Regions from separate parts of the Homo sapiens genome. Here regions 1 and 3 are each linked to region 2. The links are contacts of gene promoters, found by promoter capture Hi-C in human tissues and cell types (Jung and others, 2019). All regions are on one chromosome and are shown on one strand. The core of a region is centred on a gene start or on the middle of the fragment in contact, and the rest is flanking DNA. Distances in the headings are between cores, read along the strand shown.

What was found. Contacts are between HindIII fragments. The study calls those that stand out against the background at their distance.
Region 1: a contact is called between a fragment that was not itself captured here and the fragment with the promoter of PTX3 in region 2, in 6 of the 25 tissues and cell types used here (H1 embryonic stem cells, IMR-90 fibroblasts, bladder and 3 more).
Region 3: a fragment that was not itself captured here is called in contact with the fragment with the promoter of PTX3 in region 2 in 3 of the 25 tissues and cell types used here (H1 embryonic stem cells, IMR-90 fibroblasts and hippocampus).

The regions. Positions count from the first base shown.
Region 1 is chr3:157,371,040-157,375,574 of GRCh38, forward strand. All of the region lies in intron 7 of VEPH1 (ventricular zone expressed PH domain containing 1), which reads right to left. It overlaps LOC101928236 (a long non-coding RNA gene), which reads left to right. Exons shown (of 10, transcript XR_007096141.1): 8 at 364-693. Among named protein-coding and RNA genes, the nearest start is that of PTX3, 64 kb to the right of the region's middle. The HindIII fragment of the contact is 3,862 bases long and covers 1-3,449 here.
Region 2 is chr3:157,435,349-157,439,738 of GRCh38, forward strand. PTX3 (pentraxin 3) reads left to right here and starts at 1,502. Exons shown (of 3, transcript NM_002852.4): 1 at 1,502-1,715; 2 at 2,165-2,566. The coding sequence starts at 1,586. All of the region lies in intron 4 of VEPH1 (ventricular zone expressed PH domain containing 1), which reads right to left. The HindIII fragment of the contact is 4,814 bases long and covers 1-4,365 here.
Region 3 is chr3:157,331,149-157,335,799 of GRCh38, forward strand. All of the region lies in intron 9 of VEPH1 (ventricular zone expressed PH domain containing 1), which reads right to left. It overlaps LOC101928236 (a long non-coding RNA gene), which reads left to right. Exons shown (of 10, transcript XR_007096141.1): 7 at 1-2,215. Among named protein-coding and RNA genes, the nearest start is that of PTX3, 100 kb to the right of the region's middle. The HindIII fragment of the contact is 7,357 bases long and covers 1-4,651 here.

The DNA.
Region 1 (4,535 bases), core at 269-2,768, 64 kb before region 2:
AAAACCCTGAGTGGCTGCTGCTTAATGTGGACATTTGACACTGAAAGAAGGAGGTTTGCGCAAGTGTTACCAATCCTAGAAGATATGCTTTTCCTGCTCAAAGCCAGGGAGGACTATAAAATCCCTCCTCTTACTGCAGTATCTTAAACAGTGCGTACTAAAAGAGAGGGACTCTCCTACTCCATGAGCATACAAGAACTGGGATATAGAAATGGCCAATTAAAAATAAATCCCTGTACTTGAAATATGAATTCTGAGCAACTGCAGACAGAATTTCCTGAAATTAGAATGAAAATATAAAAGCCATGATACAAGGAAGGGACACTTCTAATTCAGATGCCCAATCATTTGCTCACTTTTCAGTTATTTAACCAACATGGGAGAGAATAAGACACGGAAAAGGGATCAGCAAAAAGTGCAAAGCCCCTGCTTTTCCTACTCAAAGTGAGATCCCTGGACCAGCGGCATCAGCATCACCTTGGAGCTTGTCAGAAGTGCAGAATCTCAGGTTCTGATCCCAGATCTACTGAATCAGAATGTGCACTTTAATACGGTCCCCAGGTGTCCAGTGACACGTTCAAATTTTGAGAAGCGATGGCCCAGACAATGAAATAAGAGAATCTGAAGTGGACCAGGGCAGAGGCCTTTTTCCTCAAGCAAGGCTGCTGAGGGTTTCACTAATTCTGTAGTAAGGTAAGACTTAATCTGTGGATTATTTGGAGTTGGTAGGCTTTGCCTTTTATCCTTTTGGGGATACATTCCGAGGTAAAGGTACATTTTCGGGTTTTGCTGCTGGCAGATACTGGTTCAGATGGACCCCGAATCTTTAGATTCCTGAGACGACTGGGCATATCAGGTGAGCAGTAGCCTTAACAGAAGACGGCCGCCCCATCCTAATGAACTGCCACCCAGATATAACACAAGTTACAAAATCACTCTGTAAATTATAAAGGACTGTAAAAAACGTAGAGTAGGAATATCATCAAAGCACTGTCAATCAAGAGGGAGACCTGTAAGGCAATGTGCTCTTCTTTGTCTAGGCTGACTTTATCGTCTGGGCACAGGAGCAAGCAATAGGGTCTGGCCATGAGGATTAAAGAGCTAAGACATTGTCACTCTTGGCATTTGACACTGGAAGAGCAGGAAAAATGGTTAAAATTTTCCTATTTGATACATCTTCTCATAGTCTTCATCTCAAATATGATACTGTAACCCAATTTTAATTGATAGAAACATAGTTACCCAGAAATGGAGGATATACTTAATCAAAAACACATCAATAACTGACCTGGGGATAGAACTCCTACATAAAATTCTGTGATTCAATTCCTAGTCTACCTAGAATTCAGCCCTTACCTATAGCAAAGTTTATCTAACAGCCTTCAGGCTGCCAACTAATGAAAAGCCTATCTTTTGCTTTATGATGAATATGAATAATATTAAGAACCATTTTTCCTCAACTGTAACCCATCTTAGAGTAGCTGTATCTCAACCATGGCCACACTGGTGTGTGTTCATCACCTTTCATTTATTAAATCTCTTTCCTTTAGGTCCCAGAAGAAAGTTTAGGGAATAAAATATTAGGTATTAAAGAGAGCTCTCAGACTTAGTCTGGGTCCAGCTGTATCCAACATTTAATACGGTAGCTTTTAAACTCACTGTAGTAAAGAACTATTTTTTTTTTAAATTTTCATGTCACAGACCAATATTTTTGTAAAAATAGCAAAAATAAACTACTAGAGAAACGCAATGAATAAAACAAGACATACAACGTCCACTGATCAGGTACTTGGATATTACAGCAATGTTAAATTGCTATAAAAGTTCTAACTTCTTATTTTCTTATTTTTAATATCTGCAATCGCTTCATCACAGTCTGATAAGAAACAGTTTGCAGATGGGCACTGGTCTAGTGGATATGCCAACACCTATTATAATGCACACCTGTAACAAAGTGCTAATGCTACTCATTAACATTTACAGAGGGCTTTCTATGTATAGTCTTCACTGTTCTAAATCTGGTACATGAATTGCTTCTCACACAATCAAGGGAGGCTGACCCTATTAGTAACTCCATTTACAGATGAGGAAACTGAGGCACACTTAAGGTCACTTAGCTAAACCAACATTAAATCCAACTGTTTGCCTCCAGAGCTCTCACTTAACACTCCACTCTGCACACTTCCTCTAAGTAGGTGTGATTCAGGTTACATCTGAATCTACCCCAGGAATAAGTAATACATATTAGGGCACTGGTGATATAGCACGGTAACCAAGAAGAGTTATTACAATCTGATATCTCTGAATAACATCCTGTGGGAATCAGACACCAGAATAGAGTTGATATATAGTCACGGGAGCAACCCTTTGTATTAATTGGAAAAATGAATTTTGGCACCCTCTTTTAACACAAACTAAAAAGGTGTTCAAAACTCAGAAAATGTCATGCAAATGGCAACTTTAAAGTTCAATTATGACAGATACTAAAAAGGAATAGGGAGCATTTGGGGAACCAAAATAGTGAATAGCTAGGTCATCAGGGTCCAGGAAGAAGTGTCTGAGCACCAGCTGGCACCCTGGCCCTCCTCTCACGTGGGTTGTAGAGGGTCAAGGTCCTCTTACCTCTTCTCCCACAAACACCCTTTTTCCTCATTCCCTAGGCTAGAACTTTGGTGTTCTCTGTCTTGCTTGAAATGGGAAGCCAGCGCATGGGTGCCTCATGAAAAGCTTTCTTTTTTTGTGTGCCCTGTGTTTTGAACATTGCTATGTTACAGAAAATGGACCTGGTTCCCCATGAAGCTGATATTACATTGCCCGCACTCCATACTGGGGCTGCCCGAGTCTCTACCCTACTGTGTCCTTACATGGCAGAGCCAGCCTGTCTGAGGTCTCACACTCCCTGGGCCTGCTTCATTGTCTCCAAAGCTGATAACAATGTCTCCTACCTACATCTCGTGCTGATAGATGAATTCCTGAAATGCCTTTAAAGACCTTCACATCACCCTAAATGCTGCGTTAAGGGAGGACAACTGGTGGAGTAAATGAATAACAGCTGGAACATAAATGGTACCACATGTCAGACTTAACCTCTTCAGTAAGAAGACGGGCCCAAAACCGAAGCCTTTCCTTCCTTTTCCATGCACAGAGGAGTAACAACAGCCACAGCTACTGCCACAAATGGCTGTTATGATTTTCTTTTTACACAAGTGATCACCATAGACCTCTCTAGATTGAAAAGAGATACTCGTTTCCTATCAAAACTCTTGTTTCATTCTTAAAATTTACCTTGGTGGGGCAAAATTATAGTCAGCTTTTCCTAAGCAGGGGGCAATGCTGACCAGAATGTCCCATGTTTTTAATTATGGTTCTGAACTGACTCGTGTACCTTCCCTGAACCAACAGCTGCTTTCAAAGAATTAATTTCTCTTTGTACGAACATGTCTTACCTAAAAATGTGGAAGTTCTTGTGAACACTTTAAGACCTTATTTTTCCTTCCATAGAGCATGGGCTGTGAATACTAGCTCTTCAAGTCTGTGGAAGAGTAGAGGGACACAGAAGGACACCTAATACTCCAGGCCAGGATGGCATGTGCTGGGAGGTGGAAAGGTTGTATGAACTGTGGGAGCTCAGAGGAAAGCACAGATCACTATGTGTGATGGTGGGTGGAAAAGGCCTCATGGAGAAGTAGTACCAAACTGGAGTCTTGGTTCTGAATGCCAGCTTTCAATGGGAAGAGAGGCACAAAGAGGGCATTCTAGAAGGTGATGGTAAAGGTTAGTGGGGTACCTCTTTGGGGAGGAATAGGCAAAAGTTACCCTTGACATTCCTTTAATATTCTTTTGAATTATCCATGAAATACTGTGAAAACTGTAACTCTTATCCACATTGAAATTTGAGATTCACTGGACTAGATTAAAAGAAGAAATTAAGAGAAACTTAATGAACTGATGTCTGGGCATTTGTATTACTGGCCCTCCAGGAATTACCATGGACTCACAGCAAGAATTTTACTTTGTTCTTGCCTGTCTGCAAGGTTTACTCTATTACGCTCTACTATGAAGTTTCTATTATCCCGATGCATATGAAAAGACTTTTTGTTGTGAGGATTAAACAAATCAGAGGGGAAAGCTCCTAGCACAGGAGCTACCATGTGGTAAGAGCTGGTTTAAAGCTTGATCAGGCCTACATATGCAGAATTTTTTGCAGAGTTGCAGAGAAGAACTTGGCCCCCTGTTCTCTGCAGTTTGTGTTGTGGACTCAGTGAAGAGCGATTACTTTCAAGGTCTTGGACAATGTCTTGGGGACATGATGTCTAAGCATGTGCATTACTGTTATTTCAGTAGAGTTAGGTTCTGATGTGACTCCCAGGATGTCAAGATGGGAACTCTGGAATGACAGGTTGCAAAGGGCCTCGTAGTTGAAAAGGTTCTTTACAGGCTGTGTTGCTTGAGTATACATTAGGGCCACACAATACATCAAATATGTCTCTTTGCTGTACTCCATTTCTTTGATGTTCATTGCATGGAATGTAGGA
Region 2 (4,390 bases), core at 252-2,751:
TTCACAGTGGCAGATAGTATATATTTGAATTCTAAACATATCTGAGGGCAGGCCCAATTTCACAAACTCAAAGGGACCTTGTAGAGTTCAAAGAGAGACATGATTGCTTCCTACCTCTTTGTGCTAGGGCAGAGTGGGATTGTACCTACTGAAATACAGTAGGTAACCCTGTGAGGGTCCTGGCTTTCATGAGGATCTCCCTTCTAACTCTCCACCTTTGGCCTAAGCTTTGCTTCCACATGGTCATCAACATTTGGTGGTTATAGAACTAATAACCCCTATCTCACTTCACTCCTATGCCAGAGGGGCCCTAGCATCAGCTCATGGGATTGTTGTTTTTGCTTTCCTCTCTATCTTTGGCTCCGGGATTTTCCCCTTACTTTAATGGGAGCTCATCTGTACCTTTTAAGTTTTTATTAATATCATGTGAACACAGACCTGTATATATTGTTAGAAGCAGAAATCTCTAAGTTTACTTTTAAAACATGATCCTTGCCTCGAAACCTTGTAGAATAATATAATGTCCACATAATACCAAGTTATGAAAAGAAACATACCTAAATAACTAAATAAGTATATTCCTTTTTTCCCCCAGCTTTTTTTCCCCATTCTAGGTTTACCCAGTTGTACTGTGTTGTTTGTCATAGGCCGGGTGAGGTGGCTCACGTCTGTAATCCTAGCAATTTGGGAGGCGAAGGCGGGTGGATCGCCTGAGGTCAGGAGTTCGAGACCAGCCTGGCTAACATGGTGAAACCCTGTCTCTACTAAAAATACAAAAATTAACTGGGTGTGGTGGCGGGTGCCTGTAATTCCAGCTACTTGGGAAGCTGAGGTAGGAGAATCGCTTGAACCCAGGATGCGGAGGTTGCAGTGAGCCGAGATCACACCATTGCACTCCAGCCTGGGCAACAAGAGCGAAATTCAGTCTCAAAAAAAAAAATTATCTATAAAAGTATAGGTGCAACTCCTCAAGTATTAAAGACAAGATAGCTCGGATTGGACTTGACTTTCAGAGCCATAACTATTCTTAATATGTTGGTTTATCTTGGAATCAGACCATTTTCAGTTTCAACCTGTAAAACAGTGTACAAAGGAAACATGGAAAGTTTTCTATATATAAAGGGTTGTGAAATAATAACAGCTCACAGAAAATGCTGAAATGATGATTTGCTTCAGTACCCTCTGAAATTTCTCCCCTACCACCCCTCCTTCATCCCCATTGCTATCAATTCAAATTACAACAGCTAATTCTCAGGAGAACAGTAGAAGCCCAGTTTCTCTCCTCTTTCCCCTCTGACCCTCCTCCAATTAATCTGACTGCAGCGTAAACCTTTGCGGTTTAATATTGTGCAACTTCCACATTTCCCTCGCTCTCCCACCCAGCCCCCTCCCCCACCAAATTCAGGGGAACTCCCGTTACCGCAGTGCCACCAGCATTACTCATTCATCCCCATTCAGGCTTTCCTCAGCATTTATTAAGGACTCTCTGCTCCAGCCTCTCACTCTCACTCTCCTCCGCTCAAACTCAGCTCACTTGAGAGTCTCCTCCCGCCAGCTGTGGAAAGAACTTTGCGTCTCTCCAGCAATGCATCTCCTTGCGATTCTGTTTTGTGCTCTCTGGTCTGCAGTGTTGGCCGAGAACTCGGATGATTATGATCTCATGTATGTGAATTTGGACAACGAAATAGACAATGGACTCCATCCCACTGAGGACCGTAAGTTCACTTTAACTGTTTCTCTGCTAACCCTGACTACATATCCACCTCTTGGTCTAAATAACACACATATACTTTGTGGCCAGTGAGACAAGTTAAAAATTTATAGCTTGTTATGCAAAAGTGAGAAGCACTTGAAGAAAGATGGAGGTTTCAAAGTTATTTCTGTAACGTACATAATGGGTTGAATCATATCAAATCGTCAATATTTGACTGTTTTGAGCTACATAACCGGCGATTTCATAGGGTACAACTTAATCTATACCTGAATGAATGATTTCTGTCGTTTCTGAGACATTTACATGCTGTTTTTCGGAGGTGTCCTTAAAGGGAAGGGGAATGCCAGGAACGGGCTGCAACTTGGCACCACCGAGGGAGGTCAGCTTTTACAAAGCACATCCAAGGCAGGCCTGGGCGGGCTGCTAACGTGTGTGTATCCCGTACTCTAGCCACGCCGTGCGCCTGCGGTCAGGAGCACTCGGAATGGGACAAGCTCTTCATCATGCTGGAGAACTCGCAGATGAGAGAGCGCATGCTGCTGCAAGCCACGGACGACGTCCTGCGGGGCGAGCTGCAGAGGCTGCGGGAGGAGCTGGGCCGGCTCGCGGAAAGCCTGGCGAGGCCGTGCGCGCCGGGGGCTCCCGCAGAGGCCAGGCTGACCAGTGCTCTGGACGAGCTGCTGCAGGCGACCCGCGACGCGGGCCGCAGGCTGGCGCGTATGGAGGGCGCGGAGGCGCAGCGCCCAGAGGAGGCGGGGCGCGCCCTGGCCGCGGTGCTAGAGGAGCTGCGGCAGACGCGAGCCGACCTGCACGCGGTGCAGGGCTGGGCTGCCCGGAGCTGGCTGCCGGCAGGTAAGGAGGCAAGCGGGGCCGGGACCTCCCACTGCGGCTTTGTTCCGGGAGCGCGCGTAACGGCAAGCCAAGCCAGGCAACCTTCTAGGGGAAGCTTTCATGGGAAGCGCGCGCGCGCGCGCGCACACACACACACACACACACACACACACACACACCCCTATTTCTGCATGCGCGGTCACAGAGCTCAGGCACACCATACAAGGCGGGAAAATTGGCTTTAAAAAAGTATTCCTCAGTCCTAAGGAGCCCTAAAGAGAGTTGTGGAGGTAACCATCACAGTCTTGAAATAGACGTCTAGGGCCCCTTACACCCGATCCGACTAAGCGCTGCAGGAGTCCACTGGCCCGTTATAACCGTGATCCCTCTTGCCGCCCAGCTTCCCTCCGTTAGGGATTTCCACGTCTTCTAATTTTATCCTGCCTCTGTCTTTAGAGGAGCTCTGGTTTCCCGCACTATTTCAGGGCCCAGGCTAACGTTTAGGGATGTTTTCCAGCCCCTCAGCCGGCCCCTCCTCTCCGCCCACCCATTCTCAGCAAGAAACTTGAGGCTAAAGCTAATCTCCCGAAGGGTCAGCGGAATTCTTCAGGGGTCCCCCAGCCCCCGGGGTTTGTGGAATTAGCGCGACAGGGGAGGTCGGAGGGTGTGCGGTTTGGGATTCAGCGTGGAACAGTCAGGTGTAGGAGCCAATCCGTGTAGGGGATCCCAGCTCCACCCCAGGGATTCAGAGAATTGGGGCCAAGCAGGAGAGAGACTGTTCAAACCACAGGCAACTTCTCAAAGTCCCATGTGACACTCCATGAATCTCCAAACAGACATGGGTTCCCAAAATAATACATTCTAAAGATGGTTAAAAGAAAGAAATAGAAGATTTGGAGCCAATCAATACTCCTTTGTATGCCAAAACTTCTAAGAAATGGTGGTGTGACAATCATTTTGGATTGTATTAGAAAATCAGTGTCCTAGGTAAGAAAATATAACTTGCACTTTTCCTGAGAATCCTTCCCTGTATTTCCAAGAAAACAACTTTTGCTGGATGGGGAGGGGGAAGAAGCATGTTTCATTTAAAGTTAAAGAATTTTATGTAATGAGAGCATGTTTCATTTAAAGTTACAGAAACCATATCATATTTCCTAAATATTTGAGGGGTGCTTGTCAGTAAATACTAAATAGGGCTTCAGAGGAGAAAAAGCATAAAATCAAATGTACACTAGATTCTCAATGTGACAGGAGAGAAATTAGAATTCTGCAGCCATTTTAATGGATGAAATGTCTTGTGTTTCGCAAACCACGTAAAGTCATTGTACATATAATGCACCTGAAAAACCGAAGAATTACTCTATTTTTTATCTTCATCTTTGCATATTAGTTAGAGCAGAAGAGGGATGCATTTCTGAATTCTAAGATGTTAATCCTTATTACATCCAATAATACTTTTACCCATATGCTTTGATTTATCTTCTCTTGGTCTCCAGCCAGCTTGGCTCCTAACCATTCTGTTGTTAGCCTCCTAAGAACCTGGTTTTAATTTTGTTTGGTCTTTGATAATCAGAAAAACCTATTAGTTAAAAGCCATTTCATAAGAGAGTTTCTGACATTTTAAAGAGGTATTAAGAGCCTCGTTTTTGGGTATCCCTGGTCCCCAAAAGAGGATCACCAAAAATAGCCAACATGCGGTTCCAGTCCATGAACTTATATAGCCAGCGTAGCCTAGAGGGAAGCTGAGTCTCTGAGATGCAATCCAGGAGTGCTTTGGAATGCAATCCTGACTGCCTGGGCTTATTTAAAGAGGAAATCACTTAATTCGATTGCAGTAGGCACCCT
Region 3 (4,651 bases), core at 1,588-4,087, 100 kb before region 2:
CTGGGGCTCATCTGCAGGGCCATTGCTAACAGCCACACAGGCTTTCCACCACATGAGTCCAGGAGGGACATTATTCCCACAGGCCACAGTGTAAGTGATACCGTCTGGAGTTCGGCAATACAGAAGCTCTGTTTATCCAATGCAAGTGAGCCACACTCCTAGGACAGTGTGATTTGAGGTGGTATGGTGATCCTTGGGGGAGACTGACATTCTATTCTAGTTAGTCTCTTCTCATACAACACTTCTTACCCCCATTGCGTATGCCTATGATATTCTTTACTTCTTTCAGCCCCATGCATGCCTTGTGGCCAAGACTCTGCTTTACGATTCAACCAAACCTCACTTCACTTACTAAATCTAGCACCAGGAATGAAAGACAGGGAGAGCGGGATATATTTGAGAAATTGGATTTAACTCTTCTTCCAACAGAAGATGACTGCAGAGGACCGCAGGACACCTCTGGCCAGGGCAATAGCCTAGCATAGCACAGTAAATTTGCACTGAGAGAGAATTACACTTCTTGCAGCTCTTTCATGGTTTGTGTATGTTCAATGATAATCAGGCAAATAAATAATAAGATAAATAGAAATATGGTTGTACTTGCAGATTTGAATAACAATGGTCTGTTCTTTAAGGTCTGAAACTTTATCAACATTGTTCTGAGAGCTGAGAGCACACTTCCATTGTACATAAGCTTTATTATCACAGGACAAGGTCAGCTCAGCCCACAGTACAGGGGCTAATAGGAAACACCATGCTGCTACACAACCTGGGCTCAAATTTCAGGTCTATCTCAGGTCTGCCAGTTATGTGATCTTAAGCAAATTTTGTTTTCTATATTTCAGTTTCCACTTTCACAATTTGGGAATAGTAATATGTACCTTACAGGGTCAAATAAAACATTTAAAATACTGCCCAGTACATGGTGCTTGCGGCTACTGCTGGCATAGAAGGGTTAACCCAGACCATTCCATAATTACACTAATTGTATGTGTTTATTTGTGGAGGATATGCTGCATATTAAGTATGGAGTTTATCACAGAATATGTAGTCATATATTTAAAACAAATTCTTATTGCAGTAAAATACATGTAACATAAAATTTACCATTTTGACCATTTTAAAGTGTACAGTTCAGTGGCAGTAAGTACATTTATGATGTTGTACACCTATCACCACTATCTAGTTCTAGAACTTTTCCATCACCCTAAATGGAACCCCCACATCTGTTAAGCAATTATTCTTCATTTCCCCTCCTCCTAGCTCTTGGCAACCAAAAATCTGCATTTTGTCTCTATAGATTTGCCTATTCTGGATATTTTATATAAATGGAATCATATAATGAGTGGCCTTCTGTGTCTGGCTTCTTTCACTTATTATGATGTTTTCAAGGTTCATCCATGTTGTAGCATGCATCAGTATTTCATTTTTTTTGCATGGCTAAATAACATTCCATCATATGAATATACTACATTTCATTTGCCTCCTCATTCATTCATGGACAATTGAGTTGTTTCTACCTTTTGGTCATTGTGAATAGTGCAGCTATGAACATTCAAGTACATGTTTTGGTTTGAACACTTGTTTTCAATTCTTTGGAGTATATTCCTAAGAGTGGAATTGTTGGGTGGCATGGCAATTCTGTGTTCAACTTGTAAGGAATGGTCATATATTTTAAAATAATTATTTCCTTATTCTTACAATGTCCAAACTTAAAAATAAAACTGTCATATTAATTATGAAGGAGGTGAATCTGAAGAGTGACATTTGCCATCACTTTTCCAGTCACCTGATTGTACACACAGATGAGGAGCAGTGCTTACAAACAATACTCAAATCAGGATCATTTCTGATTGGGTGGCTGACTGCTTACAATTACAGAAAAGTGTTATTGTGGCAATGCTGTTCATATTTTTGGATTGATTTCAATGTTGTTTCTGATATTTCCAGGAATTTGGCCAGTAATACTTCCCAAAGTAGGAATAATGAAAAATATAAATTATGAAACTAACTGAAAATTGAACTTATCTTTAAATGACTATATTGATACTTTTAGTTCTCCAGTGAATTTTTGGTATTCCCTAGGAAGAATGCACCTTCCAATAAGTGATGAGTGTCACTCAGTTCTGGGATGAGGAATGTTTTGCAGTGCTTATCCGATCACAAAATCCGCCAGGGGAAGTTCACTCGGAAGACCTCAACTTTTTCCTACCAGGTACTCTTGATGGTTGCCAAATACAAGTTAGATGTCCAAACATTAAGAATACAAAGTAGTCAATGTCAACATGATCAGAAAGGAATCTGGGATATTTTCAGAGGAGTTAGCACAGTTTCTAGACATGAAAGTAATTTTGGAATTTACATGAATTTTAAATCAAATACACACACATACCTCTCTATATATTTGCATGACACTAATGTAGTTGATTTCTGGCAACAATACAGAGCCACTTTGTGGTCACACTGAGTCAGTGGAAGCCCATATGGTAGAAATAAACACTTGGCTCTTCCAAGCACAGATTTATCAAAAGTTGTACAGAGGCAAATAAGGCAGGCAAGCCGTGATCCCCTGCAGGTACCATTCCATGTGCTACCAATTACTTTGCAACTCTGCAAAATGCATAACAGTAACCAGATATAGGGCACAGAAAATTTTAGGAAATTCTATTAATAAACTCCACTAAAATGGGTCCGTTTACATTTTTTTTTCCCCAGAGGAAGGAAGGATAAGCCTAAGATCATGTATATGTGAGTCACCCATTGCATTGCTCTCTCTGGTTGGCAGTTCTGAACTAAGACCTTCTGGGCTGGCCACCATCAGGCATCAGAAGAACACTCATGGGAGAGTTATATGTATTTACCAGGAGGTTTATTATGTCCGATATGTTGGTGCAGGGTATATAGGACCTCCACATAGTGTATATCAACTCCACGTAGTGTGTATCAAACTCATTGACGCTCCTGTTAGAAGTGGCCTTTAGCAACTACTAACTAAGCCTGACTTTCCTAAGATGCCAACCGTCTATTCCCTGTTGACTTCATGATCATGTGGCTGACATGAGAAAGTTAGGGGGCATTTTATTTCAGTCACTGCTGCTAAATGAGGTGTTACTGAATAGAAAGCAACTAATTTTGTGCAGCCAATTCTCGGGATATACCATGAATTTGAAAGCCAATTTTAGAAAATAATTCTAGTCTTAAGGAAATTCAGTTCTTCAGGCTACAGGTAAGACTGGAAGCCTCTGAGGAAGGCATTTTCATGTGGCTAATTGTACTCTTAGAGTACAAGTTCTGAAAAATGTTACAGATTACTTGTCATTAATGCAGCTGCTGTAACAACATGAACAGCCATTAAGCTTGAGGAAGGTTGATTTCATTTGTTATCCTGCACTGGGGAAATGTCTACCAGCATCACCATCATTAACAAATACTCTGAGGACTTACCAAGGATGAGACATTGGGCTGAGTGTTAAAACTATAAAAAGATTCAGAGTTTTACAGCTTAAAAAAGAGATGTCAGAAGTATATGAATATTTAAAAAGAGCAATCCATGATCAAGTGCCAAATGAGAAGTACTGGGAATCACGGGGGTGTAGAAAGTAAGAAATAGGCTAGCCCTGATGAATGCTAGGCCTAGATAAATAAAATAGCGGGCACCTAGAGGAGCAAGAGTTTGGGTAAAGGCATGGAGGTGGGGATGAGAATGGCATGTCCGAGAAGGCAGTGTGGGATAAAGAAGCAGTGGCAAGATCATAGAGCCAGGGCCAAGTCCTGATTCTGCCTTCTACTGGCCATATTACCTTGGACAGGTTATTCGCCTTTCTATTTTCTCATTCATAAAATGAGGACAGTGCTAACTACACTACAGACTTGTCACCAGGATTAAATAAAATAATTTGTTCACCTTTTTAAAATTATCTATCACCTTCATCAATATTATAATGCTCAGAGTCAATGAAATTATCTCCAAAAAGCTGCTGTCAAAAAGCCCAAAGTGTGTTGGCACTGGGAAATTGGGAGGTGTTTTTTTCTTTGACATTCTCAAATACAGTAGACCACTGGGCAACATAGTAGGACCACATCTCTATGAAAAAAAAAAAAATGCTGGGTGTAGTGGCCTGTGCTTGTAGTTCCAGCTACTTTGGGGGCTGCGGTGGGAGGATGGCTTGAGCCTGAGGGTTGGGGCTTCAGTGAGCCGTGTTTGCATCACTGCACTCCAGCCTGGGCAACAAGGAGGCCCTATCTCAAAAACAAAGAACAAAAAACAACTCCCCACAAGAAGGAAAGGAATGTGCATGGGATAAGGAAATGCAAATACAGAAAACTGAGACAGGAAAGGAGAACAACAAAGAGAGGGAGAAGACAGGAAGATTTATTATGAAGAAAGGTAGTCAAATCAAAGGAAAGACAATCATGGAATAGTGGTAGTAAAAACCCAAGAAGACCAAATGTTTTCCCCTTTGAATACAGCATATAGGATCTGAATATAAATAGTGTCTAGTGTGGGACAGAAGAAGGAATAGAGTACAAAAAGTGTCCATCTCTACAAAAAAGAAATCAGTCAACTATGCGTACTTTTTTTTTCTCATCAATTCTCCAAATATTCTGCTGGGAAAAAGATGGGAGTTATTGGCTCCGAGTTAGTGAAGCC